3 separate regions of the Homo sapiens genome follow, and all the other regions are linked to region 1. The links are contacts of gene promoters, found by promoter capture Hi-C in blood cells and fetal thymus (Javierre and others, 2016). All regions are on one chromosome and are shown on one strand. Each heading gives the region's core, a stretch centred on a gene start or on the middle of the fragment in contact. The rest is flanking DNA. Distances are from core to core; before and after follow the strand shown.

Region 1 (3,617 bases), core at 155-2,654:
ATGACTCCTACTGCTTCCACCCTGCTTATCATCTCTTGCCCTACATTGCAATCTCCTTACTTGTCTCCCTGATCTTGGCATCCTCTATCTGTTCTCTGTAAGGCTCTCTGAGTGATCCTTGTAAAACTAAGATAATTCCATTCTGCTTCAAGCTCTCCAATAGGTCTCCCTTGCGTTCAGAGGAAAGGCTGGAGGCCATTAAGTCCTAGTAACAGGCCTTTCCCCAGCCATCCCTCTCTTTGGCTTTGTCTCCTGACCCCTGCTGAGCCACACCTGGGGATTGCTACTGCCTTCAGGTTATTGCACTTTCTCTTCCCTCTGCCTAGGATGCTCATCCGCCCCCTATTCTCATGACTTGCTGTCTGGCTTCTTCCAGGTCGTTATTCAAATGCCACCTCATTGACAGCGTTCCTAGACAATCCTACTTAAAATTGCAACCCTACTTCCTACCTCTGGCACTACTTCTTCCTTCTTGGCTTTATTTTCTGCAAAGTACTACCTCACACATTCTATATTAGTCATTTACTTACTGCTTGTCTCCCTCCACTAGAACATAAGCTCCACAAGCTTTAGAATTTCAATTTTGTTTGCTACTCCATCCCCTAGCCTAGCACAGCTTTTGTTGAGTGAGTGAGTGAATTAATGAACAAATGAATGGATATTCTTTTCCAGTCCTGTAAGTGGAAGCTCAATGGGTTTGGGTGGGTCTTATCTCTCTTGCTCCGGGGCTTGATTCAATGCCTGCACACAGCTGGCTAAATAAATGCATCCTGAAGGAACGACAGAGAAGCTGTTTTATTCGCGCGTCCTGGGGTTACTAGAGACAATGGACACTGTAACGTCCCAAAGGGTAGCAAACAACTTGGCAGCCTCTTGCCTTTATTGTCCGCCTTGGAGGGCCAGAATGCCCGTATTTCCCCTTGGGACTGGAATTTGGTCTTGAGGGCCAAGGACACGAACGTAGAAAAGCTGGCAGCCTTGAAAGAAGCATACCCAGCCGGCCTTCCGGGCTCCTGCACATCTCGCGCTACAGCGAGCACCCCACTCCCGGCCAGGTTAGCGCAGACAGCCAGCCCCCTCCCGCGGCGACCATCACGTAGCCCCCCGACGTAGCTCCACATCCGGCCAATGGGCCTGGGGTTCCTAACGTCACCCAGCAGCCTGACAAAACGCCCCTTCCGTCCAGTCCTTCCCGGCTCACCGGGACCCTCCAGGCGGTGTCCGAGCCCTGAGATTCGGGGTAGAGCTTGTCCAGGCTGTAGATGCTCTTGAACTCAGTGCCGTCTTTCTGCTTGTGCAGCGCCCGGCGTGGGCACCGTGCGGGCGGTGGGAGCAGCCAGACTCCGGCTCGGCTCAGGCCCCAGCGCAGGCACCTGGTGGCCGCCATGCTCAGGTCTTGCGACTGCTTCCGGCGGGCGCTTCCTCCCCGCGGTCCGCAAACTCGAGCCGCCCTCGAGCTTTGGTTCCGCGCAGTTTCTAGGTCCCGCCGAGGGGAGGCGGCAAACTGGGGTCCCGCCGATGCTTTCTGGCCGGCCGCCTCCGGGAGGCCTGGTTGGCTGGGGAAGACGGTGGCCAGAGAGCGAGCTGCTACCGGAAGAGTGCCCCGATCTTGTGGCCCCCAGAAACACCACTTCTCTCCTTTCAGAGTCCGTGCCCTCCGCCTGGACCGCCCACTGCCCAATTCAAACAGCAGCGAGGCCTGCCCGGCCAGCCTGGGGCATCTCCCGCCCCGCGCTTCCCAGCCCCTTTACTCTGCTCTAATTTATCTTTTTTCTCTTCCTTTACAAAAATCACTCAGTCCTAATTGTCTAATTGCTGTCTCCTAGCCGGAATGTGAGCTCCAGGAGGGCACCGGCTCACTGGTATATCCCCAGCACCCAGAACATGGCACATCGTGGGCACCCCATGAGTACTGATAAAATGAATTCTGTAGGAATGTACTTTTGAAAGTTGGGTTCTGGTAGAGCTGAGTTTTAGGAACGCCAGGCTCTTTTTACAAGGCAGCCTATGAGCAAATTCCCCGCTGAGCACGTGTGTGTACTGGCTTATACCCAGCAGCTCTGCAGGACAAATACCAGATGGGAGGAGAAGGCAGGCCACCGAAAGAAATGTTTGCAAAACCTGGAACATCGTCCCCCGCCCTTCAGCTTTATGGAGCAAGATGATGCTTTCTTCCAGCCAGGAGAGAGGGGGTCCCTCGGGAGGTAGGGAGAGAATTCAGAGAACTGCCAGCTAACTAGAACCCTTTCATAGCGCTGGTAAGGGATGAACTACAGACAAGTTCCAATTCTGAAAAAGGTTCACAGTAGAGCAAGCAGTGTTTGAAAACAGCTAAACCTTAGTTAAGTTACTGTGTTGAGAGGCTATGTGGTAAATGGAAACAAAGCTAAATAAATGTTCATAATTATTAGTAATGCTAGCGATTGTTTCTTAATGAAGAGTTCTATTTTTAGGAACAAGCATAATTATCTAGAAAAATGTGCCCCCGGGGATGCTGGCTGATTGAAACAGGAGATTGTCATCACACCAAGCTTTTACCATCTCCGCATTATGGCTACAGCAAATCTTTAAGAAGGAATAAACCACTTTCTAAGCACTGGCTTTATAAGCTCAGACTAGAAAGGGGTGACAATTGACATATCTCGGGCTCTATCTCGGGTTGGGAGGAGAGTCTCCTGGGTCCCGCGCTGTTTGACTTAGTCCCAAGACCTCAAAGGGAATAGACGCATCTCTATGGCAACTGGAATAAGCTGCTCAGAGGAGCAAAACCAGGCATTCACTCAGGTCGGGGGCTAAGGGGTTATGAGTAATAAAGTCAGAACCTTTCCATGACATCATTGCTCTGAGGCTGGGCTCCAGCTCTGCACCTGACCCAAGGCAATAGGAAAAGGAAGCTGCAGGTTTCCATGGCCCCAAATAAACACAGCCTGCTTGGGCCATCTGGTGGCCTGGATTCTGGGAGAGGAGGTGGGTAGAGGAGAGAATGAGGCAAGCCGCCCTGGGGTGGAGAGAGGAGCAGCTGGCAAGCTCCTCTTACCTGCTGCTGCCGTGAACTATCCAGAATGGGGGCCCTGGGAGAAAGGCCAGAAAGGGGCCACCTGTTCTCCCAAAAAGATGGGCACTAAAGGCTGAGGCCAGTCTTCCCTTTCTCCTCCTTGGTTTTCTATAGGCCGAGATGGTGCTTCAGGGAGGGGACATTCATGGGAGAAGAGAGGAAAGAGGTCATTTCTGGCAGCTGAGGAGCTTGCAGACACAAGCCTTTCTATAGGGCCTATGAGTTGGGGTACTATTCCTATGTAGGGGGTCCTACATAGGACCTACATAGGACCCCTTTCTTCTTCTCTGTACCGCCCTGGGTCAGAAGACCTCCTTTTTTTTTTTTTTTTTGAGATTGACTCTCGCTCTGTTGCCGAGGCTGGAGTGCAATGGCACGATTTCAGCTCACTGCAACCTCTGCCTCCTGGGTTCAAGTAATTCTCCTGCTTCAGCCTCCCGAGTAGCTGGGACTACAGGCGTGCACCACCATGCCCGACTAATTTTTGTATTTTTAGTAGAGACGGGGTTTCACCATGCTGGCCCGGCTGGTCTCGAACTCCTGATCTCGTGATCCGCCTGGC
Region 2 (3,821 bases), core at 283-2,782, 140 kb before region 1:
CACTGCACTCCAGCCTGGGCGACAGAGCAAGACTCTGTCTCAAAAAAAAAAAAAAAAAGCTAAGATTTTGGCTAGATGCGGTGGCTTACACCTGTAATCCCAGCACTTTGGGAGGCCAAGGAGCATGGATCACCTGAGGTCAGGAGTTTGAGACCAGCCTGGCCAATATGGTGAAACGCCGTCTCTACTAAAAATACAAAAATTAGTCAGGGGTGGTGGCGCACGCCTGTAGTTCCAGCTATTACGGAGGCTGAGGCAGGAGAATCGCTTGAACCTGGGAGGTGGAGGTTGCATTGAGCGCCATTGCACTCTAGCCTGGGTGACAAGAGCGAAACTCCACTTCAAAAACAAAAAAAAAAAAGAAAGGAAAAAAAGAAGGGAAGATTCTAACACAAACAAGTGGTGCGCTTCGTGCTGTTGTGGTAAGCACATAAATGCATCATCCGTGCTTTCTAGAACAGAACTTCTCACTGGCTTTTCATGAAAGCCCGGGGGGGGAGGGTGGTTAACCTAGACTGCCCAGAATACAAACTTCCAACTACCTGAAAGGTGGCTTTGCAAAGAGGAATGTGGTTCAATTATTATGGAAATATTGAGACAAGCAAAGACATCTGCCTTGAGGAAATATGCAAGACATGAGAAGGGCCTGCCCTCTTTTGCCCAAGGCTTTCCTATTATGATCTTGTAAACCATCATTCCTGAATCCTCCAAGTGTGTCTGCATTTGTCGCATGGATAGATTTACCCAGACAGGTGGAAGAGTCATGACTTAAGGGTTATAAACAGCTGCAGAGGCCTGAGCTGCTTCCATAGTCTTGGTAGCAGGGAATGAGTCCATTCCTGGTGCCAGGCATTAACCAGCCTTAGAATAGGCCCCCAAATAGGAGCGACTGTAATTTTGGTCCAGTACATGCACCACCCATTACAACTAAACAGTAACATTAAAATGTAAGGAATTTCCAGTCCTTTTAAAAGGGATCATCTTGGTGCGCTCTCTGTTGCTGACTCATTGTGCGGCTGCTTTGAGACTATTAGGTTTCTAAATGGGACACACAGTAGGTATTCAACAGATAAATGTCAACTTGTTGCAGTACTTTTCATCCTTTAAGGAGGATGCCCTTACTATCCCACCATCAGTAAAGCAAATGAGAGAACAGTAACAGTGACAAATCTCCCTTCTGCTTGCCGAGGTTGTAACTCCCCAAGAAAGAGCTTCCCCCTCTGTCAGGTAACGTTTTACAGTGACAGCCAGCACGACTTCCACCCAGCGCGAGGTAGATTCGCCTTCCGTCCAATCATCGCCGAGATTTTGGGGTGGGGGAGGGGAGAGAGTCCCAAGGCCTTCCCAGTCCAGGAAGGGGGCGGGCTTAGGCTGAGCCGTGGCCGCCACAGCCCATCGTAATGCCGCATGGTGCTTGGCACTCCAGAGAGCCAATAGGAATGAAAGAATTCATTTGAATCGGCCAATGCCGGCGGGTTAGGGGGCGGGGGTTGAAAACCCTATAAAGGCGTCGATCGGCCGGACAGGCGGCAGCGGCGGCTCCTGCAGCGGTGGTCGGCTGTTGGGTGTGGAGTTTCCCAGCGCCCCTCGGGTCCGACCCTTTGAGCGTTCTGCTCCGGCGCCAGCCTACCTCGCTCCTCGGCGCCATGACCACAACCACCACCTTCAAGGGAGTCGACCCCAACAGCAGGAATAGCTCCCGGTGAGGCGACCGGGTCGCGCCCGAGCCGCGCGGGGCTGAGGGGCTGGGAGGGCCGCTGCCGGCGGGGCCTCGCGCCGGTCGTTGCGGGTAACGAGCCCCGTGCGCTGTGCTCGCGCCGGGGCGGGTGGCGGGGTTCTGCCGTCGGCGCCGCCTTTGTGCCGCCTGGCGAGCCCTGCGCGCCGGCCCCACCCGGGTCCCTGCTGCTCTCCATTCATTCCTTCCACGGAGTCAGGGGCTGAGGAGGCCGGGGCTGGTCGCCCCTCGGAGCACGGCCGGTTTTCGTTAATCGGAACCTTCGGGGAGGGCTTCGCTTTCTCCTGTGTGCATCCCGGCTGGTGCATCCCCAGGGTGGTGGGCTTGGCCCCCCAGGTGCCCGGGGATCCTTTAGGGCCCCATGCATGGTCAGGTCCTATTGTCCCATTGATGGGCCACGCGCTCCTGTCTCTCCCCCGTGGCATGCGGTTGGTCTCGCTCTCGCGCGCAGCCATTGGATCCGGAGACCGGATCGATCAGGTCCGGCGGGCTCCTTACCCTCGCCGTGCCCCCACTCCTTATTCGGACCTACCTGACAGGTGCATGTGTGGTCGAGCGGGGCTGGTCATCGCGACCCTTCACCCCCCATTGAGGACCCAATCGTTCTTCCCCTCTTCGAAGTGCCTCCCCTCTTCCAAGTGTCTCCCCTTCCTAACAAAGGAAAGACCCCTTCTCCCCATCCCTGCGCTCATTTCTAAGGCGGGGGGCGGGGGCGGGCGCGGGGAACGAGCCAACCCGAGTGGGTTTTCTGCGCTTAAACCTTCGGACCGTGGCCTTTGCATCCTACCTTCGCTTCCTCCTTTGACGTTTGCCCAGTGAGTTCATCCCTGGCCCTGGTTCCCTTGCAGGAGGAGGTTTCTTGTTCTTGGGCGGGGCCGGAGACATCCATTGTCTCTAACGTGGTAGCGCTACCTGGGAAGCGGGGGATTTTTCTTGCCCTTCTTCCCACTGCTTTTTGGGCTTGGGGCACTGGGTACAGTGTTTGGACAGGAACCCTTTTCCAAGTCCTTGCTTAACTTACTTGGTGGAAGGGTTTGGATTCTGTGGAAGGTGTCCACATTGTCTCAGCTAATTGCACACTGTTCTTTAAGGTGGGTTACAGTTATGTCTGGGATCCTCTTCAAGGCTTGGAAGAAGCTTAAATCACTTTTTTGAGCATGTATTTTACATCGATTATGACCTGCATTCATGTGTGGCTACCCTCGGGGTCCTGGCCAAGTGGCACAAAGGGAGCCATTTTGTGGGGCTAAGAAGACACGTGAAATAGCCATATCTCACAGGGGTTAGAGAACTTGGGAACAAAAAGCACGCCTCACTCAGCAATTGAGCCTTAGGAGGAAAGCATGGGAAATGACATTCCTTTACAACTCAATACTTTCAGGTTTACAAGGTCAAAAAGACTAGGTAAGATTAAAAAAATAAATTGGTGATTACTGGGAGGATGGGGTACTTAAGTAGCACAGACCTAGGAAACTGGTCGCTCCCTTTCTGTTTTCTTTCCAATGAGATGATTTCTTCAGAGAACAGGAAGAGATTGAGCCTTGGTTTTTCATTTTGTGTTACGAGGCCAACTTTCTGCCGGTTAGACTTCAGTCGTCGGAATGATAATGTGTAATCTGGGGTTTTATTCTTTGGGGTTGAGTTGATATTAGTGTTTTGTAAAGAATTTCAGTAATTAGGTCAAATGAATCCTCACACTTAGTTTTTCATGTGTACATTTGAAATGTGAGACAAATGAGTTCTGATCCTGTGAAATGAATGTTTAATTCACCTTTCGTCATCAATTTCCCTCCAATATTATGCTCTAGGGACTGTAGTAGCATTGTCATTTTATTGTCTCTCTACCTTCCCTTTTTCTATATTCTCACCTAATTCTCATAAACTTAATTTTGTCCAGTAATGTTCTCCTGGCCCCATAAACTCGTTATAAATTTAGTCTGGTAGGGAATGATCTGCAAAGATATACAGAAACTTCAGGATTTTAAGAGAGAAGAAAGAAAAGGAGCAATTTTTTAAAAATTGCTATTTACAGTACATGGACACATTTTTGTTCAGTCTTAAATATATAATCCTGATTTAGTTGTCG
Region 3 (3,762 bases), core at 1,213-3,712, 200 kb before region 1:
TGCCTACCTGGGGCCACTTCAATAAAAAGAATCTCACACAGGTTCCAGATGAGCTCCATTGCTGACAAAATGGAGACCTAAGGAAGAAATGGGGACAGGTTTCACCTGAAATGATTCCTGAGCTTTGCTCTCAGAGCCAAGGGATAAAGCAGACTTTGACTCATATGACAGTCATTCCTTAACCCAAAGGTTACTGCAATCCTACTGGAGGATTTCCCACAGGGGAGCCAGCGTGAGGATGTTAGGTGGTGGGATGGAGACCAACACTATTTTGTTTTAGTGGTTGTGATTTTATTTTACTGTGCATTACAAAAATAACTTGGCCAGGTGCAGTGGCTCATTCCTGTAATCCCAGCACTTTGGGAGGCCAAGGCAGGTGGAATGCTTGAGTCTAGGAGTTTGAGACCAGCTTGAGCAACATGGCAAGATCCTGTCTCAACAAAAAATATAAAAATTGGCCAAGTGTAGTGACATATCCCCGCAGTCTCAGCTACTCAGGAGGCTGAGGTGGGAGCATCACTTGAGCCCAGGAAGTTGAGTCTGAGTGAGCCATAATCGTGCCACTATTCCAGCCTGGGCAAGAGCGAGACCTTGTCTCAAAATTTAAAAAAAGAAAAAATATAACTTGCATGTCACCAGTTATTATTTATTTATCTTTTGAGATGGAGTTTGGCTCTTGCTGCCCAAGCTAGAGTGCAGTGGCATAATCTTGGCTCACTGCAACTTCCGCCTCCCGGGTTCAAGTGATTCTCCTGCCTCAGCCTCCCCAGTAGCTGGGATTACAGGCGCCTGCCACCATGCCCAGCTAATTTTTTGTATTTTTAGTAGAGACGAGGTTTCACCTTGTTAGCCAGGAAGGTCTCGATCTCCTGACCTCGTGATACACCTGCCTCGGCCTCCCAAAGTGCTGGGATTACAGGCTTGAGCCACCGTGCCCTGCCAACACTCAGTTTTTGTTTTTTGTTTTTTTTTTTGAGACAGAGTCTCACTCTGTCAGTCAGGCTGGAGTGCAGTGGCATGATCTCGGCTCACTGCAACCTCTGCCTCCAGGGTTCAAGCAATTCTCCTGCCTCAGCCTCCCAAGTGGCTGGGATTACAGGCGCACACCACCACGCCTAGCTAAATATTGTATTTTTAGTAGAGATGGAGTTTCCGTGTTGGCCAGGCTAGTTTCGAACTCCTAACCTCAAGAGATCCACCCACCTCGGCCTCTCAAAGTGCTGGGATTACAGGCGTGAGCCACTGCGCCCAGCCTATCTTGATGAACTGATGCTTTAGCAAGGTGCTTCATTTGAGTAAAAAGAAGAGACAATATTTAGAAGAATATTCAGTAGATGACATGAAACACGTAGACAGAGCAAGAATTGTGAAGCTGGTATTCAAAGGACTGAAGTTTAGGGGAACAGTCTATTAACGGGAAAGCCCAATATAAGACCCCGAAATAAATCAGACCTGGACCTTGCCCTTAGGAATACGCAGGCTTCCCTTCCTCACCATCCTTCAGTCCACAGACACCATGATGACTTGTTCATAAGGGTACTTCAGAGACAGTGAATTACTACCTAGTCACTACTGACTTTGAAAAGTATCTAATATGAAGCATCTACTGAGGAAAAAGATACTGTAAGTCATCTTCCAGCTCCAAGTAAAGTAGAGCCACTTGCAACTCAGTAAAAATGTTGAGTTTAGCCGGGCGCAGTGGCTCACACTTGTAATCCCAGCACTTTGGGAGGCTGAGGCAGGCAGATCACGAGGTCAGGAGATCGAGAGCATCCTGGCTAACACGGTGAAACCCCCTCTCTACTAAAAATACAAAAAATTAGCCCAGCTACTCGGGAGGCTGAGGCAGGAGAATGGCATGAACCTGGGAGGCGGAGCTTGCAGTGAGCCGAGATCGCGCCACTGCATTCCAGCCTGGGCGACAGAGAGAGACTCCGTCTCAAAAAAAAAAAAAAAAAAAAAAAAAAACTTGAGTTTTGCCAGGTGTGGCAGCTCACACCTATAATCCCAGCACTTTGGGAGGCCAAGGCAGGAGGATCACTTGAGCCCAAGAGTTCGAGACCAGCTTTGACAACACAGAGAGACCCTGTCTTTCAAAAAAAAAATGTTGAGTTCAAGAAGTGAGGAGTGTTTATGAGACCGAGCAGTGATCTCACAAGATTACTTCTCCATTTCAGGTGACAACCCCTCAACACAATTTGGTCAGGACATATATGTTCCATAAGAACGGAACATTCAGGGCCAGCACGGTGGCTTACACCTGTAATCCCACCACTTTGGGAGGTCGAGGCGGGTGGATCACTTGAGGTCAAAAGTTCAAGACCAGCCTGGCCAACATGGTGAAACCCCATCTCTACTAAAAATGCAAAAAGTAGCTGGGCTTGGTGTGGCATGCACCTATAATCCCAGCTACTCGGGAGGCTGAGACAGGAGAAATGCTTGAACCCAGGGCACTCCAGCCTGGGTGACAGAGCAAGACTCCATCTCAAAAAAAAAAAAAAGGAACCGAACATTCACTCAAGTATTTAACAAGCACTTCCTTGTGAGCTACACCTTGAAGGGGGCAAGACAATCACTGTCACCCAAAGGAGCTGCCTATCTACCTGAAAAGAAGAGACTTCTGCCATAACAGGAACTGCAAAGCCACCCCAGGTGGGTGCCCAGGACACAGGACACAGTGGTGCTAAAACAATAAAGGTGACTCCCCTTACCTGGCTGCTGAACTGGCGGCCATTGGCTGGATCTTTAGCAGCAACTAACAAAACACAAAACATTTTAAGTGAGCAATGGAACTCTTAGGCTTATTGTCATAGCTGAATATTCCAGGGTCTATGGCTTGAGCCTCTGTTTATTTTAATGAGAAAAATTAAAAGACATTATAATCTCTTTTAATTATGGATTTTTTTGTTGCTGTTAATGCTTCATATCCCTTCAATTCTCAAACCAAAAGCCCTCAAGTTACAAAATGGCACTTTCAACTGCAACACAGCTACCATAAAGGTCTCTGACATGCCAAGCACAGTGGCTCACACCTGTAATCCCGACACTTTGGGAGGCTGATGTCAAAGGACTGCTTGAGCCCAGGAGTTCAAGAACAGCCTGGAAAAATTAGGGAGACCCCGTTTCTACAAATAATTTAAAAATTATCAGAACAAAGTTCTCTGAGGAAAACTGGACAAAAACTGTTTAAATTAGCTGGGCATGGTAGTACACACCTGCAGTCCCAACTACTTGGAAGGATGAGGTAGGAAGATCACTTGAGCCCAGGCGGTGAGCTCATGACTGCAGTGAGCCATAATGTTTCTTTGCACTCCAGCCTGGGCAACCTTGTCTCAAAAAAAAAAAAAAAAAAAAAAAAAAACTCCAGGCACAGTGGCTGACTCCTGTAATCCCAGAACTCTGGGCTTGGTGGTGTACAACTGTAGTCCCAGCTACTCAGGAGGCTGAGGCTAGAGAATCGTTTGAACCTGGGAGGTGGAGGTTGCAGTGACCTGAGTTCATGCCACAGCACCTCAGCCTGGGCGACAGAGCAACACTCGGTCTCAAAAAAAAAAAAAAAAAAAAAAAAAAAAAAAAAAAAAAACAACAACAAAAAAAAAAACCTCTAAATGATTACCAAAAAAGTAAGGATTATGAAAGATGGAAAAATAAGTTTTGGACTGGAATATCAATCAAACTTTACCTCACAGTATTTATGCATAGATAAATACTCAAAATACCCACACACACACACACACACACACGCGCGCACGCGCACACAGT

Evidence for each region. The method cuts DNA at HindIII sites, captures the fragments that hold promoters and counts their contacts. A CHiCAGO score of 5 or more calls a contact.
Region 2: a contact is called between the fragment with the promoter of JPT1 here and the fragment with the promoter of MRPL58 in region 1, in 1 of 17 cell types (erythroblasts). The highest score is 5.1, in erythroblasts.
Region 3: a contact is called between a fragment that was not itself captured here and the fragment with the promoter of MRPL58 in region 1, in 1 of 17 cell types (endothelial precursors). The highest score is 5.1, in endothelial precursors.

The regions. Positions count from the first base shown.
Region 1 is chr17:75,010,457-75,014,073 of GRCh38, reverse strand. MRPL58 (mitochondrial ribosomal protein L58) reads right to left here and starts at 1,404. Exons shown (of 6, transcript NM_001545.3): 1 at 1,202-1,404. The coding sequence starts at 1,387. RefSeq lists enhancers at 394-1,076, 1,097-1,176, 1,227-1,536, 1,077-1,760, 1,627-1,776 and a silencer at 1,429-1,611. The HindIII fragment of the contact is 1,964 bases long and covers 570-2,533 here.
Region 2 is chr17:75,152,223-75,156,043 of GRCh38, reverse strand. It overlaps JPT1 (Jupiter microtubule associated homolog 1), which reads left to right and starts at 1,532. Exons shown (of 5, transcript NM_016185.4): 1 at 1,532-1,702. The coding sequence starts at 1,647. RefSeq lists an enhancer at 449-1,044 and a silencer at 1,697-1,936. The HindIII fragment of the contact is 22,783 bases long and covers 1-2,874 here.
Region 3 is chr17:75,212,069-75,215,830 of GRCh38, reverse strand. NUP85 (nucleoporin 85) reads right to left here. Exons shown (of 19, transcript NM_024844.5): 5 at 2,712-2,755; 6 at 8-77. Among named protein-coding and RNA genes, the nearest start is that of NUP85, 8.3 kb to the right of the region's middle. The HindIII fragment of the contact is 5,491 bases long and covers 1-3,762 here.